Regions from separate parts of the Homo sapiens genome. Here regions 1, 2, 3 and 5 are each linked to region 4. Evidence: promoter capture Hi-C in 16 types of primary human blood cells and fetal thymus (Javierre and others, 2016). All regions are on one chromosome and are shown on one strand. Each heading gives the region's core, a stretch centred on a gene start or on the middle of the fragment in contact. The rest is flanking DNA. Distances are from core to core; before and after follow the strand shown.

Region 1 (2,727 bases), core at 207-2,706, 500 kb after region 4:
GCCCCCAGCTGTGAAAGATACAGTGATTGTTATTGTTTAAGTGCTGTTGCTGACTTGTTACACAGTAATAGAAGACCAGAAAATATTTAATTTAAAACAAAACCTACGTGAACATAAATGTATAGAAAAAGTAGAAAAGCTTCTAGAAAAATTTTCCCCAGAATCTTTACCATCACCTGTGGGAAAGGGAGGAGGACTGCGGCTGGGGCGGGGGGTGGGGTGAGAAGAGGAGGTTCAACTTCTCTTTTCACATTATATACTTTGGTATTGCCTAACTTTTTTCAACAAGCAAGCATTTCTTTTATAATAAAAAACCAAATCATAAAAAAATACAGCCAGGAAAAAGCAACAGAAAGATGAGAAAGAATTAATACCCAAAGCAAAAATCAATGGATTAGAAAGCAAATAAAGCCCTACTCCCAAAGTAGAATTGATAAATAAGACAGCTGGTTTGTCAAAGTTCAACCAAGTAGACAAATTTCTACTAAGTGTGATCAATATTTAGCAAATACACATTATAAATGAGAACAGTGAGATTTTTCAAAAGCTGTAAGAGAATACTTTCATACAACTCTAGCTTAGTAGAGCTGAATGAAATGGTTTCTAAAAAAATTATAAATGACTTTAAAAATTGTCTTAAGACTTAGGAAACCAATAAATTGATCAAAACTATGCTAAAAGTTAAAGTGGTCAAAGAACAAAGACCAAAAAAGGCATAAGGGTGAAGTGGTCATACCAGTAAGTTCTAGCAAGCCTGCACAGAAAAAATAATTCCTGATCTAATAAGCTGCGGTAGAAAACAAGAAAAGGAAGGCTATTTTCCAGTTTATTTTATTTTTATGTTTATTTTTTTTGAGACGGAGTTTTGCTCTGTTGCCCAGAGTGGAGTGCAGTGGCACGGTCTCAGCTCACTGCAGCCTCTGCCTCCCAGGTTCCAGCGATTCTCCTGCCTCAGCCTCCTGGGTAACCGGGATTACAGGCACACGCCACCACGCCCAGCTAATTGTTGTATTTTTGGTAGAGACCAGGTTTCACCATGTTGGTCAGGGCGGTCTCAACCTCCTGACCTCATGATCTGTCCACTTCGGCCTCCCAAAGTGCTGGGAGTGTGAGCCACCACGCCCGGCCTTCCAGTTTATGAGGCTAATACAATTCTGACACGGAAAGGTGGCAAAGGCAGTATAGAAAATTCAGAATAGTTTCACTTACAAGCAGAGACACAAAAATTCCAAACAGTAAACATATCAAATCCAGGGTTTACAATGATCAGGTAGGGATTATTTTAGAAATTCAGGGATAGTATTCAATAAGAAACCTATGAATTAGTTCAATTATATTTATGGGTTAAAAGCAGGTTGACATGTTGATAGATCCAAAAAAAGTATCTGACAACATTCAACATTCATCTCTTAAAAAATCACAAAGTAGGCCGGGCACGGTGGCTCACGCCTGTAATCCCAGCACTTTGGGAGGCCAAAGTGGGCAGATCACGATGTCAGGAGTTCAAGACCAGCCTGGCCAACATAGTGAAACCCCATCTCTACTAAAAATACAAAAAATTAGCCGGGCATGGTGGCAGGCACCTGCAATCCCAACTACTCAGGAGGCTGAGGCAGGAGAATCACTTGAACCCAGGAGGCGGAGGTTGCAGTGAGTGGAGATTATGCCACTGCACTTCAACCTGGGCGACAGAGTAAGACTCCATCTCAAAAAAAAGAAAAAAACAAAACGACAACAACAACAAAACACAAGGTAAACTGGAGTGGAAAGCACTCTCTAAACGTGAGAAACCGCATCCCTCAGACATCAGCAGCAAACATGTATACTTTATGTATACTATTATGTATATGATTATGTATACTATAGTGTGTTTGAAGAACACACTATAGGCACTGCCATTCAAGATAGCACTAGACCAGATTGCTCACTCATGTCTATTAATTAATTAAAATCTCAATGGAGTTTTTATTCTGGAATTTGACAAAACGATGTTCAAGTTCATCTGGCAGAATGGATGGCCCAGAAATATTTGAAACAGAAGTACAGCAGAGTAGGCAGGCGCTTAACTACCAGAGTCTAGAATATACTATCTGGCTCCAGTCATTAAAAGAATGTGTCACTGGCATAGGAACACAGATTCAGATTTACAACAGAAGAGTCCAGAAATAAACCAATGCATATTATGGATATTTCACATATGATAAAAGTGGAATTTCAAATTAGTAGAAAAAATATATTACATGATGATATTGCAAAAACTGGTTAACTATTTGTAAAAGAAATTTAGATTCCTACTTCACACTATGCCAAAACAAATGGCAAAAATGTGTAAAATTTACACATTTTTTACACATAAAGTGTGTAAAAAATTACCCAGGTAGAAGCAGAAGGTCTTGGCCTGGCCCTCCAGGGTCCCAGACTGTGGAGATTGGAGGGGCAGGTCTGGCCTTTCCTGGGTTAGCACAGGGTACCCAGTAGGGGCACAAGCTCACTATCCATCGGCCAGCCTAGTTGTGTTTGAAGAAGTATTCCTTGTCATCCACATTGGGCTTCATTGTCGCTACCAGGCTTCCAGCCAGTGGGACAAACTTTCCCGTGCTCATCTGCGTACTGGAATGCCTGGACCAGCTGCAGAGCCTCATCCATGGAGCACCCCAGAGGCAAATCATTAACAGTGATCTGGCAAAAGTCACCCTTGCCATCGATGATAAAGAGGCAGGGTAGGCA
Region 2 (2,750 bases), core at 243-2,742, 340 kb after region 4:
TAGCTAGGGACAGGCACTGCAATAGCCCAGGTGAGAGATAATAAAGGTATGAATTTAAAAATACACATAACAAATTAGATTTTAACATTGGTTTTAAACTAAAATCCCCAAGAAAACCACTGAAAAACCTTGTCTCTTTTGTAAATCTGTTTCAGGAAGAAAAACCTCTAACCAACAAATTTCAGGAACATTTACTGAGAGCCCAAAGGGAGTAATAATTGACCAACAATCTAACATCATCAGAGATTTTAAACAGGCCTGATAAATTAAAACTAGAATTGTCAACAATATTGCAGGAATCTCAAGTTCACAAAGTTCAGGCTACCTAAACAAGGAATACTTATATGCAACTCATTGAACATTTTACTAAGTTTTCCAAAAATTTCTTGATTTTCCATTCAGAGGAGTTTCAGTTGGTCAACCAAAGGCCGACTTATTTCCACATGAAAGCCCTGATCCTGCTCACAGCACAGGATCTTGTAAAGGGCAAGGACCCAATAAACATTTGCAGAATAAATGAGGCCAGGCCTACGGTGCAGGAACTCCCTCCATCACAGGCGACTCGAATGCTAGTCTATTTCGAATAAAGATCTCAACATCCCGGAATCAAGTCTGGAAGAAAAACCCTCCGGTTAGCGTTCGCCAGCCTTCCCAGGTCGGGCCTCCTGCAAGGCCCTCAAGGCGCTGTTTTCCCAAAGTAACGCCACCGTGCCACTTCCCAAAGATGACAACCTCTCAGCTCCCTGCCATGTTACCCTCTCTCCAGCCAGATCCAGGAGTCGCGGACGCCTGGGGAAGTCTCCCAGCGGCCCGATCCGCGTCAGAGGAAGCGTTTTCGGGAGAGGGGGCTGCCGCCACGACAAGCGCCTTCCCGCGCCCTACTCACCGTGGCCGGGCGGCCGTGCTCGGGGCCGTCAGCGGCGTCCAGGCGCGGGGCCGGGGCGGCGGGCGCCGGGGCCGTGGCGGCGGGCGGCTGCCTGTGCTTCCCGGCGCGCTTGGCCTTGGCCTGGATGCAGCGCTGGTGCAGGGCGAAGGTGTGTTGGCGCTCCAGCTCCAGGCGCTCGGGCGACACGGCCTCGTAGCGGGCCTCGCAGGTGCTGTGGTGGCGCCGGCACAGCTCGATGCGCCGGCGAAGGCGCTCCATGACCGCGCTGTGCCGCGGCAGCGCGAACTCCGCCATGGGGCAGGTGGGCAGCACCATGGGCCGCGGGCTGCACGGGCCGGGCCCGGGGCCGGGCCTCTCGGGGCCGGCTGGCACTGCGGGCTTCGCTCCCCGCGGCTACCCCTCTCCGCCTCACGGCCGCGCCATGCCCCCGAGGGCAGCGGAGCGGGCTCGCGCGCGGCGGCGGGTTTTCCTCCTGCCCCGCTCGGCCCGACCCCCAGCCGGCGCTTGCTGCCTACCTCAAGCCTCGGCCTCTCCCCACCGCCCCGGCCCCATTGTTTTCCGCGCTACCGCCGCGGCCGCCATCTTAAAATTGTTTTCGGGCCTCTCGGAAGAAGGCGGGGCCTCGGTAAGAGACCTTGTGCATCACGACTGATGAGCAGGGGCCCTGGCCAATCAGAGAAGGAAGAACCGGCCGCCCGAGGGCGTGGGGACGAGCACGCAAGAGGCGCGCTCGGGCGCCAGAGCGGTATTTAAAAGGAATTCTCAAGCGAAGGGCGGAGGGAAGCCCCTGGGCGGGCCTTAATCCTGGGGGCGGAGCTAAGCGTGACTGACAGGAGCCCGTCCAAGAGGCGGCTATTGGTTTCCTGCACAGCACCCGCTGAAGGCAGGCCCTTCCGGCTACCCCGAGAAAAGGGGAATCTGGCAGGCGAGTGCGGCGCAGCTGGCCAGTCCCTGTCGCCCGCCTGGCAGTACAGAGACCTTTTTTTTAAATTATTTTTTAAATTTCGACTTTGATAAACTCTAAGTAGCCACGCTATTTTAATGTCAGCCGTTTTACTTTGACCTTATTCCTTGTATCCAGCCCCATAATTGGTCAGAATCGTCTAGTGAGCTGGTAGTTTCCTCTTGCAACATTCCGAATCACTGGTAGTTTCCACCTATTTGTAAAAGCCCGAGCAAGTTTCAAAAGTGCAGTATTACTCACTACTTAAAAAAAAAGTCCAGAAGATGTGAGCAAAAGCATGCAAGAGTGCAGCTCCATTAGAGGGAACTGGAAATGCAAAGGACGACGTTTCACCACAACCACCGCCTTCCAGGCTCAAGCGATTCTCCTGCCTCAGCCTCTCCAGTAGCTGGGATTACAGGCATGCGCCACCACGCGCGGCTAATTTTGTATTTTTAGTAGAGACGGGGTGTCTCCATGTCGGTCAGGCTGGTCTCCCACTCCTGACCTCAGGTGATCCGCCCACCTCGGCCTGCCAAAGTACCGCGATTACAGGCGTGAGCCGCCGCGCCGGACCAAAAACAGTCCTTTAGGTAAAACTGAGTTACTCAACAAAACCAAACCAAGACAAATTATGCCCCATTATTAAAACTAATAGGCAAAGGGGAGTAGAGGGACTGGAGCAATCAAACAGTGTTAGTACTAAAACTAGATAGTGTGATGCCAAAGGATATCAGGAACTCTAGATATGGGCACTCTAATTGCTAAAAGGTTAAGCAGGAGGTGGCAGGAGGCTGCACATTGAGATACACCATCAGTAGTTCAAACATTCGTTACTCTAGCTTTTTACTAGGGCTCATGAGGTTTTATTTTAAAATCAAGAGAAAACAACAATCAAATATGTCTTCATACAAACGCAGC
Region 3 (2,700 bases), core at 165-2,664, 320 kb after region 4:
TCCACTACTGTCTTAATCCTTTGCCATTCGCTTTCTTCGAGGCATCAATCACTCGGTGTGTAAGTCCAGAACATGCATGTACTCCTCAAACTCCTTTGACCAAGCTGGACACCCTTATTCCCTTTACAAATAAAACAATTGAATCTACTTGTCCAAATGGATCTGGGAGTTAAGTGCAGCAATTCTATCTTAAGGAGAAAAATTTGAAATATTATCAAACGTAGCACGGAGGGTAATAAAAGTAAAAACGCATTAAAGATGTCAAGATAGACTGGTTTAATTGAGTAGTGAAATCAGAAGGCAGATTGCCAGAGGCCAAAGACAGACAATGTGAATTCAGGACTCCTTCACCCCAGCACGCGCGCGCGCGCGCGCACACACACACACACACACACACACACACACACACACACTAAAAAATAGCATCTAGGATTTAGGTGAGCAAACTGAAATCAGTAATTATAAATACAGTCTTTCCTGTTCCAATGATTGTGAAGTGACAGTGAGATAAGAGTTCCACAGATGGGCCAGGTGCTGTGGTTCACGCCTGTAATCCCAGCACTTTGGGAGGCCAAGACGGGCGGATCACCTGAGGTCAGGAGTTCAAGACCAGCCTGGCCAACATGGTGAAACCCTGTCTCTACTAAAATACAAAAATTAGCTGGGCATGATGGCGGGTGCCTGTAATCCCAGCTACTCAGGAGGCTGAGACTGGAGAATCACTTGAATCTGGAAGATGGTGGTTGCGGTGAGCCGAGATTGCACCACTGCACTCCAGCCTGGGCAGCTGAGTGAGACTCCTTCTCAAAAAAATAAAATAAAATAAATGAGTTCCACAGATGAAAGAGGACATAAAGAGTAATATCCAGAGGCTGAGGCAGGAGAATGGCGTGAACCCGGGAGGCGGAGCTTGTAGTGAGCTGAGATCACGCCACTGCACTCCAGCCTGGGCGACAGAGCGAGATTCCATCTCAAAAAAAAAAAAAAAAAAAAAAAAAAGAGTATCTAATAAAGTGTTAAACTCAACACAGTACAAACGTACTCATTACTCAACAGCACTAATAGAAATATGCCAGCCACAAGTGTGGGCAAAATTTGCTAGTAGCACATAAAAAGAAACAGATGGTGCCAATTTTAATATCATATTTAACCCAATATATATGAACTTTTTAACATATAATCAGTATTTTTTGAGAAAAAATCTTAATATCTTTAATAATGTTATTTAACCATATATATATATATATTTTTTTTTTTTTTTTTTTTTTTTTTGGAGACAGAGTCTAGCTCTGTTGCCAGGCTGGAGTGCAGTGGTGCGATCTCGGCTCACTGCAACCTCCACCTCCCGCGTTCAAGCGATTCTCCTGCCTCAGCCTCTTGAGTGGCTGGGACTACAGGCGTGCGCCACCACACCCAGCTAATTTCTGTATTTTTAGTAGAGAGGGGGTTTCGCTATGTTGGCCAGGATGGTCTTGATCTCTTCACCTCGTGATCCACCCACCTCGGCCTCCCAAAGTGCTGGGATTACAGGTGTGAGCCACCACACTGGGCCTATATTATCTTTTTAACATGTAATCAGTATTTTTTTTTCTTTGAGACAAGGTCTCACTCTATTGCCCACGATGGAGTGCAGTGGTGCAATCACAGCTCACTGCAGCCCTGACCTCCCAGGCTCAGATGATCCTCTCACCTCAGCCTCCCTAGTAGCTGGAACTACAGGTGTACACCACCAAGCCTGGCTAATTTTTTGTAAAGATGGGGTTTTGCCATGCTGCCCAGGCTGGTCTTGAACTCCTGGGCTCAAGTGATCTGCCCAGTTCAGCCTCCCCAAGTGCTGGGATTACAGGCATGAGCTACTGTGCCTGGCCATAATCGGTATTTTTTTCTTTTTTTGAGATGGAGTCTCGCTCTGTCACCCAGGCTGGAGTGCAGTGGCATGATCTTGGCTCACTGCACCCGCTGCCTCCCGGGTTCAAGTGATTCTCCTGCCTCAGCCTCCCGAGTAGCTGGGATTACAGGTGTGCGCCACCATGCCCGGCTAATTTTTGTATTTTTAGTAGAGACGGGCTTTCGCCATGCTGGCCAGGGTGGTCTCGAACTTGACCTCATGATCCGCCCGCCTTGGCCTCCCAAAGTGTTGGGATTACAGGTGACAGCCACTGAAGTGAGTGCACCAAAAAAATCTGTGGTACTAAATTATCAAAATCCAGTGTGCATTTTACACTTTTAGCACAAGTCAAGTTTAACAAGGTGCATTCCACGTGCTTAAGAACCTGACCTGGCTGATGGCTACCCTCATGGACAGTATAACTATAGAAAGTAGCCAGCTGGGCACGGTGGCTCACGCCTGTAATCCCAGCACTTTAGGAGGCCGAGGCGGGTGGATCACCTGAGGTCAGGAGTTTGAGACCAGCCTGACCAATATGGTGAAACCCTGTCTCTACTAAAAATAAAAAATTAGCTACGCATCGTGGTGTGCGCCTGTAGTCCCAGCTACTCGGGAGGCTGAGACAGGAGAATCGCTTGAACCCAGGAGGCAGAGGTTGCAGTGAGCCAAGATCGTGCCACTGCACTCCAGCCTGGTGACAGAGCGAGATTCTGATTTAAAAAAAAGTAGCCTTGAACAACTAAGTTTTCAGGACAGCACTGAAGATAAGGGAAGCCCCCGGGACCTGCCGCCTGGGCCCAGCAGCAGCTCCT
Region 4 (2,700 bases), core at 140-2,639:
CAAAGCTGACTCCACCCACTTCCCGCAGTAGGAGACAGGAGACTCAACCCTGGCTGGTCAGAAGACGCCAAACTTTCCCCCTCCGCCTCCCCACAAAGATCCTGTAAGTTCCTGAATTCGGCTGCACTGCCCCATTCTTCCTTTTAGCTGATACTTTATAGCGATGTGTATCTTTTAAACGCCATGGAGAGAGAAAATGAGAGTCGTGTGTGTGTGCGCGCGCGCGCGTTTCGGAAGGTGGAGGGGGGGTTCCCACTGCAACCCTCTGGTCCGGGGGCCCCTGGAGTAGTTCACCTAGTCACTAGAGCAGGGGCTCCCCAACCGCCCGGCCGCGGACCTGTACCGGCCCAGGGCCTTCGAGGAACCAGTAAGCGAGCAGGAGGTGAGTGAGCATCACCGCCTGAGCTCCGCCTCCTGTCAGATCAGGGCGGCATTAGACTCTCATAGCAACGTGAACCCGGCTGTGAACTGCGCATGCTTGGGACCTAGGTTGCCCACTTCTTACGAGAATCTAACGCCTGATGATCTGAGGTGGAGCAGCCTCATCCGGAAACCACTTCAACTCCCTCAGTCCCTGGAAAAACTCTCTTCCTGGAAACCCGTCCCCCAGTGCCAAAATGGTTAGGGACGGCTACCCTAGAGGTCTTTCCCAACCACTCGTGTCCCTGCAGGTCCGGGCCAGAGACATCCCCCATCCATGATGTCAACCGCATGACGTGAATGTTAAATCTCATGACATTTAATTTTAAACATTTCTTTTAAAGTTATGGCTTTTTTTCCTTTGTAGTCTGTTCTCACACATTTCCATACGTCCTCGCAAATCTCCCGGGCTCCACGCCCTGCGGCTATCACGCCTGACAGAGAAACAACCAGCACCAGCGGCTGACCCGGCTGCCCGGGCCCTCGTGCAGGCGGGCGGGAGCGGACAGGCCCTGGCACGCATGCGCTCGGGGCGGGACTGCGCCTTAGGCCTGCGCGTTGCCGCTAGACCAGCGGGGGGGCGGGGCGGCGGCGGACACGCGCCTCAGGCGGCAGCCGCGCGAGAGGGACTTTGTGTTCCGCTGACCCTCCTCGGGGCGCTTCCTCCCGTGCCGCCCTTCCCCTCCCCCGCCGCGTCCTTGCGAGGCGCCTCCCATTCGGTGGGACCGACCCGGGGGGATGGAGGGGGCACGCTTCTACAACCCTCCTGGGACCCCGAAGAGACGCCCGCGTGCGACCTGAGACGCCGCCCTCGCCGAGGGCCCATGGGCGCGTCCCCACAGGCGGGCAGTGGACGTGAGGGCGGCGAGCGGCGGGGCCGCGGCGTCCAGGAGGGCCGCGCTCGGGCTCGGCCCCGCGCAGGCCGCGCGCGCGCGCTCCCGCCGCCGCCCGGGCCGCGCCCGCCCCGCCTCTAGGCGCCGGCCCCGGAGCCCGGTCCGCGAGCAGCGGCGGCTGCCGGAGGGACGATGAGCTGCGCGGGGCGGGCGGGCCCTGCCCGGCTCGCCGCGCTCGCCCTGCTGACCTGCAGCCTGTGGCCGGCACGGGCAGACAACGCGAGCCAGGAGTACTACACGGCGCTCATCAACGTGACGGTGCAGGAGCCCGGCCGCGGCGCCCCGCTCACGTTTCGCATCGACCGCGGGCGCTACGGGCTTGACTCCCCCAAGGCCGAGGTCCGCGGCCAGGTGCTGGCGCCGCTGCCCCTCCACGGAGGTGAGTGCCGGCCCGGGGGCGGCGGGCGGTGGTCGCTGCATCCCGCGTAGGCGGCGGGACTAGGGTTCCCGGCCCCGGCTCTGGCCCTGGCTCTCCCGCGCTGCCCGGCCGACAGCCCCAGCCAGGGTCGAGGCTTCCGTCGTGGACAGCCCGGCCTGCTCCCGTGGGAACCAGGCTCCAGGAGCGTGACTGGGTTTTTCCCTTCTTTTAAAAAAGACTTGGAACGGTCATCTTTGCGTTCAGGCAGCTCGTTTGCTGGAGGGCATTGAGCTAGGAGTTTGCAGGGACAGCGTAGACAAAGGAGGTGGTGCAAGAGCGCAAAACTACTTCATGGGGAGGACGTCTCAGCCTGTATTTTGGAAGCGGCAGGTTCCTCAAATCACGGACTTAAGGCTGCGCTAGATCTGGAAGGATGCGGCCCTTTTCTAATATAAAAACGTGCCGTTTTTCTTAAGTGGTAAATTGGGGGGGGGGTGTAAATGGAAAATGGACATCTTCCCTGTTGCTTTTGGCTCTTGTTCTTGCCCTAGTAGTTTTACTGTAATTTGACGCCTGAAAATGTCACATTATGAGGATCTGACACTAATCGGAACTACTAGCCAAGGCTTTTCAGGTCACGGGTGCCGACCAAAAGGGAAATAGGTAAAATTTTCAAGAATTGTCTTTGAAACCATTCGGCTTAATGTCATGTTTTCCTATGAACAAGGACTTTGTTTAGTTGATTATTTGGTGTAAACATGTATTTGTTTAAATTATTAGTCATGGTTTGAAAGAAACCTTTTGCACATCGTGGAATATGATTTTTTGGGTTTTGGCCCACGCTGAACTTTTGGGAGATATCTGCCATTATCCCCACCCTCATTGTCACCCTGAGAATGCTGAGAGGGGATTTTTCTTTTCTAAACTGCTGTTCATGTTAGGATGACCTAAAGTAGGCAACCTAAATAAAGTCATGATTTGCTTGTACACTCTTAAGATACTAACATATTATGCCCCTCTGAGGTCTGT
Region 5 (2,798 bases), core at 220-2,719, 360 kb after region 4:
ACAGGCATGAGCCACCATGTCCAGCAAAAAATACCAATTTTTTTTTTTTTTTTTTTGAGACAGAGTCTTCCTGTCGCCCAGGCTGGAGTGCAGTGTCACAATCTGGCTCACTGCAACCTCCGCTTCCAGGGTTCAAGCAATTCTCCTGCCTCAGCCTCCTGAGTAGCTGGGATTACAGGCACCCTCCACCATGCCCGGCTAATTTTTGTATTTTTAGTAGAGATGGGGCTTCACCATGTTGGCCAGGCTGGTCTTAAACTCCTGACCTCAGGTGATCCGCCCACCTCGGCCACCCAAAGTGCTGGGATTATAGGCACGAGCCACCATGCCTGGCCAAAAACACCTATTCTATTCTTAAAATTATCTCGAACCTCAGTTCCTGTGGAAAAGAAGTTTTTTGGGTTTTTTGTTTTGTTTTTTGAGACAGCATCTCACTTTGTCACCCAGGCTACAGTGCAGTGGCAAGATCATGGCTCACTACAGTCTCGACTTCCTGGGCTCAAGCAATCCTCATACCTCAGCCTCCTGAGTAGCTGAAACTACAGGCACATGCCACTATACTCAGTTAATTCTTAAGATTTTGTAGAGACAGGGTCTGACTATGTTGTCAGGCTGGTTTGGAACTCCTGGACTCAAGCAATCCATCCGATTCAGCCTCCCGAAGTGTTAGGATTACAGGTGTGGGCCACCATACGTGGCCAAGAAGCTTCTTTTAATGCTGACAAATTAAGGTCATTTCCCAACTAAGATACTAAAGTGAAGAGATTCTTTTCTTTCGTGGAGGGGGTACAGAATCTTCCTCTGCCACCCAGGCTGGAGTGCAGTGATACAATCTTGACTCAACTGCAACCTCTGCCTCCTGGGTTAACGTAATTCTGCTGCCTCAGCCTCCCGAGTAGCTAGGATTACACCAGCTACTCAACACCACGCCCAGCTAATTTTTGTATTTTTAGTAGAGACGGGGTTTTACCATGTTGGCCATGCTAGTCTCGAATGCCTGATCTCAAGTGATCCGCCCGCCTCAGCCTCCCAAAGTGCTGGGATTACACGCATGAGCAACCATACCAGGCTGAGATTCTTCTTGTTTGGAGGCTGGGGTACTCTCCAGATATACAATCTTTTTTTTTTTTTTTTGAGATGGAGTCTTGCTCTGTCTCCTAGGCTGGAGTGCAGTGGCGCGATCTCGGCTCACTGCAAGCTCTGCCTCCCGGGTTCGTGCCATTCTCCTGCCTCAGCCTCCCAAGTAGCTGCGACTACAGGTGCCCACCACCACGCCCGGCTAATATTTTTGTATTTTTAGTAGAGACGGGGTTTCACCATGTTAGCCAGGATGGTCTCGATCTCCTGACCTTGTGATCCACCCGCCTCGGCCTCCCAAAGTGCTGGGATTACAGGTGTGAGCCACCGCGCCCAGCCTTTTTTTTTTTTTTTGAGATTGAGTCTCACTTTCGCCCAGGCTGGAATGCTGTGGCACAATGATCTTGGCTCCCTCCCAGGTTCAAGCAATTCTCCTGCCTCAGCCTCCCAACTAGCTTCGGTTACAGGCGTGCACCACCATGCCTAGCTAATATTTGTATTTTTAGTAGAGGTGAAGTTTCAACATTTTGGCCAGACTGTTCTCGAATTCCTGATCTCAGGTGATCTGCCCATCTCGGCCTCCCAAAGTGCTGGGATTACAGGCGTGAGCCACAGTGCCCGGCCAGATATACAATCTTTAAATTAAATGGATGATATATATGTAATACCATAAGCCCCCAAACTAATGCTTTTTCTTACTTAGTGTGTAAAGATGTGTTTTCTTATCAGTAAAATAGGTCTTCAGATCTGCATCTGGCCTCTTAGCATGTTTTTCTTCATAGATACCCGTTTTGGGGTTTTTGTGTCGGAAGATGAAGTGCAGTTTATAGTCCTCTCCACATTTATCTGGACCAAACATAATCGTATAAGGGGTCTTGTCATGGAACTGATCCTTCAAAAACAAAAAAGGATTATTTGAAGTCACTGTACTCAAAGTGTTCAAAAGCAACGTTTCAAAAGTGTATGATAATTCCTCTTATAAAATTCCAAATATATTAGTGACAGTTAAAGGAAAAGCTAACTACAAGTTTGTTTAGTAAAAAGGAATAACCAGCAATCATCAGTAAATTTAAAATAACGTTTAAGTGTCTAAAAAAAAGTAATGCACACATCTAGACAGTTATTGCTTCCTCATAAAACAAAGAAATAAGCTTGCCAAAACTAAAACTTACACAGAAGCAAAACCAGAAATTCAGATAAAAACAGTTGGTAACAACTTTGTAATTTACACTTCAAATAAAAAGCACGTTAGCGTCAAAGTCAATTTTCCCAACTCATCAAAAGAGTTAAACAGCAGGGGAGGAAGCCTTTATTTTCACAATTATTACAAAATTCTCTTTTTTTTTTTTTTGAGATGGAGTCTCGCTCTGTCGCCCAGGCTGGAGTGCAGTGGCGCAATCTCGGCTCACTGCAAGTTCCGCCTCCCAGGTTCATGCCATTCTCCTGCCTCAGCCTCCCAAGTGGCTGGGACTACAGGCGCCTGCCACCACGCCTGGCTAATTTTTTGTATTTTTAGTAGAGATGGGGTTTCACCATGTTAGCCAGATAGTCTCAATCTCCTGACCTCGTGATCCGCCTGCCTTGGCTTCCCAAAGTGCTGGGAGCTAGGATTACAGGCGTGAGCCACTGCACCCGGCCCAATTACAAAATTCTTACAAGGTAATAGTGGGTGTCCAGCCACATTCCAGAAATGGGAATTACATACCAGGTTGAGTTCTGGT

The links. Contacts are between HindIII fragments. The CHiCAGO score rates a contact against its expected background, and 5 or more counts as called.
Region 1: a fragment that was not itself captured here is called in contact with the fragment with the promoter of RNF130 in region 4 in 1 of 17 cell types (neutrophils); the score reaches 5.3 in neutrophils.
Region 2: a contact is called between the fragment with the promoter of MAML1 here and the fragment with the promoter of RNF130 in region 4, in 2 of 17 cell types (total B cells and total CD8 T cells). The highest score is 6.9, in total B cells.
Region 3: a contact is called between a fragment that was not itself captured here and the fragment with the promoter of RNF130 in region 4, in 1 of 17 cell types (naive B cells). The highest score is 5.1, in naive B cells.
Region 5: a fragment that was not itself captured here is called in contact with the fragment with the promoter of RNF130 in region 4 in 2 of 17 cell types (neutrophils and total B cells); the score reaches 6.6 in neutrophils.

Annotation. Positions count from the first base shown.
Region 1 is chr5:179,572,522-179,575,248 of GRCh38, reverse strand. The region is part of intron 5 of RUFY1 (RUN and FYVE domain containing 1); the gene reads right to left. All of the region lies in intron 4 of LOC128966623 (a long non-coding RNA gene), which reads right to left. It also overlaps the pseudogene PRDX2P3. Among named protein-coding and RNA genes, the nearest start is that of RUFY1, 23 kb to the right of the region's middle. The HindIII fragment of the contact is 2,630 bases long and covers 142-2,727 here.
Region 2 is chr5:179,731,564-179,734,313 of GRCh38, reverse strand. MAML1 (mastermind like transcriptional coactivator 1) reads right to left here and starts at 1,492. Exons shown (of 5, transcript NM_014757.5): 1 at 887-1,492. The coding sequence starts at 1,201. CANX (calnexin) reads right to left here. Exons shown (of 15, transcript NM_001746.4): 15 at 2,673-2,750. RefSeq lists silencers at 900-959, 1,200-1,399 and enhancers at 588-1,088, 1,850-1,949. The HindIII fragment of the contact is 11,025 bases long and covers 1-2,750 here.
Region 3 is chr5:179,750,898-179,753,597 of GRCh38, reverse strand. All of the region lies in intron 1 of MAML1 (mastermind like transcriptional coactivator 1), which reads right to left. Among named protein-coding and RNA genes, the nearest start is that of MAML1, 19 kb to the right of the region's middle. The HindIII fragment of the contact is 6,852 bases long and covers 1-2,700 here.
Region 4 is chr5:180,070,448-180,073,147 of GRCh38, reverse strand. It overlaps RNF130 (ring finger protein 130), which reads left to right and starts at 1,389. Exons shown (of 9, transcript NM_018434.6): 1 at 1,389-1,692. The coding sequence starts at 1,446. RefSeq lists a silencer at 1,039-1,118 and an enhancer at 1,008-1,715. The HindIII fragment of the contact is 6,319 bases long and covers 1-2,700 here.
Region 5 is chr5:179,709,044-179,711,841 of GRCh38, reverse strand. CANX (calnexin) reads right to left here. Exons shown (of 15, transcript NM_001746.4): 6 at 2,783-2,798; 7 at 1,777-1,969. Among named protein-coding and RNA genes, the nearest start is that of CANX, 11 kb to the right of the region's middle. The HindIII fragment of the contact is 1,522 bases long and covers 709-2,230 here.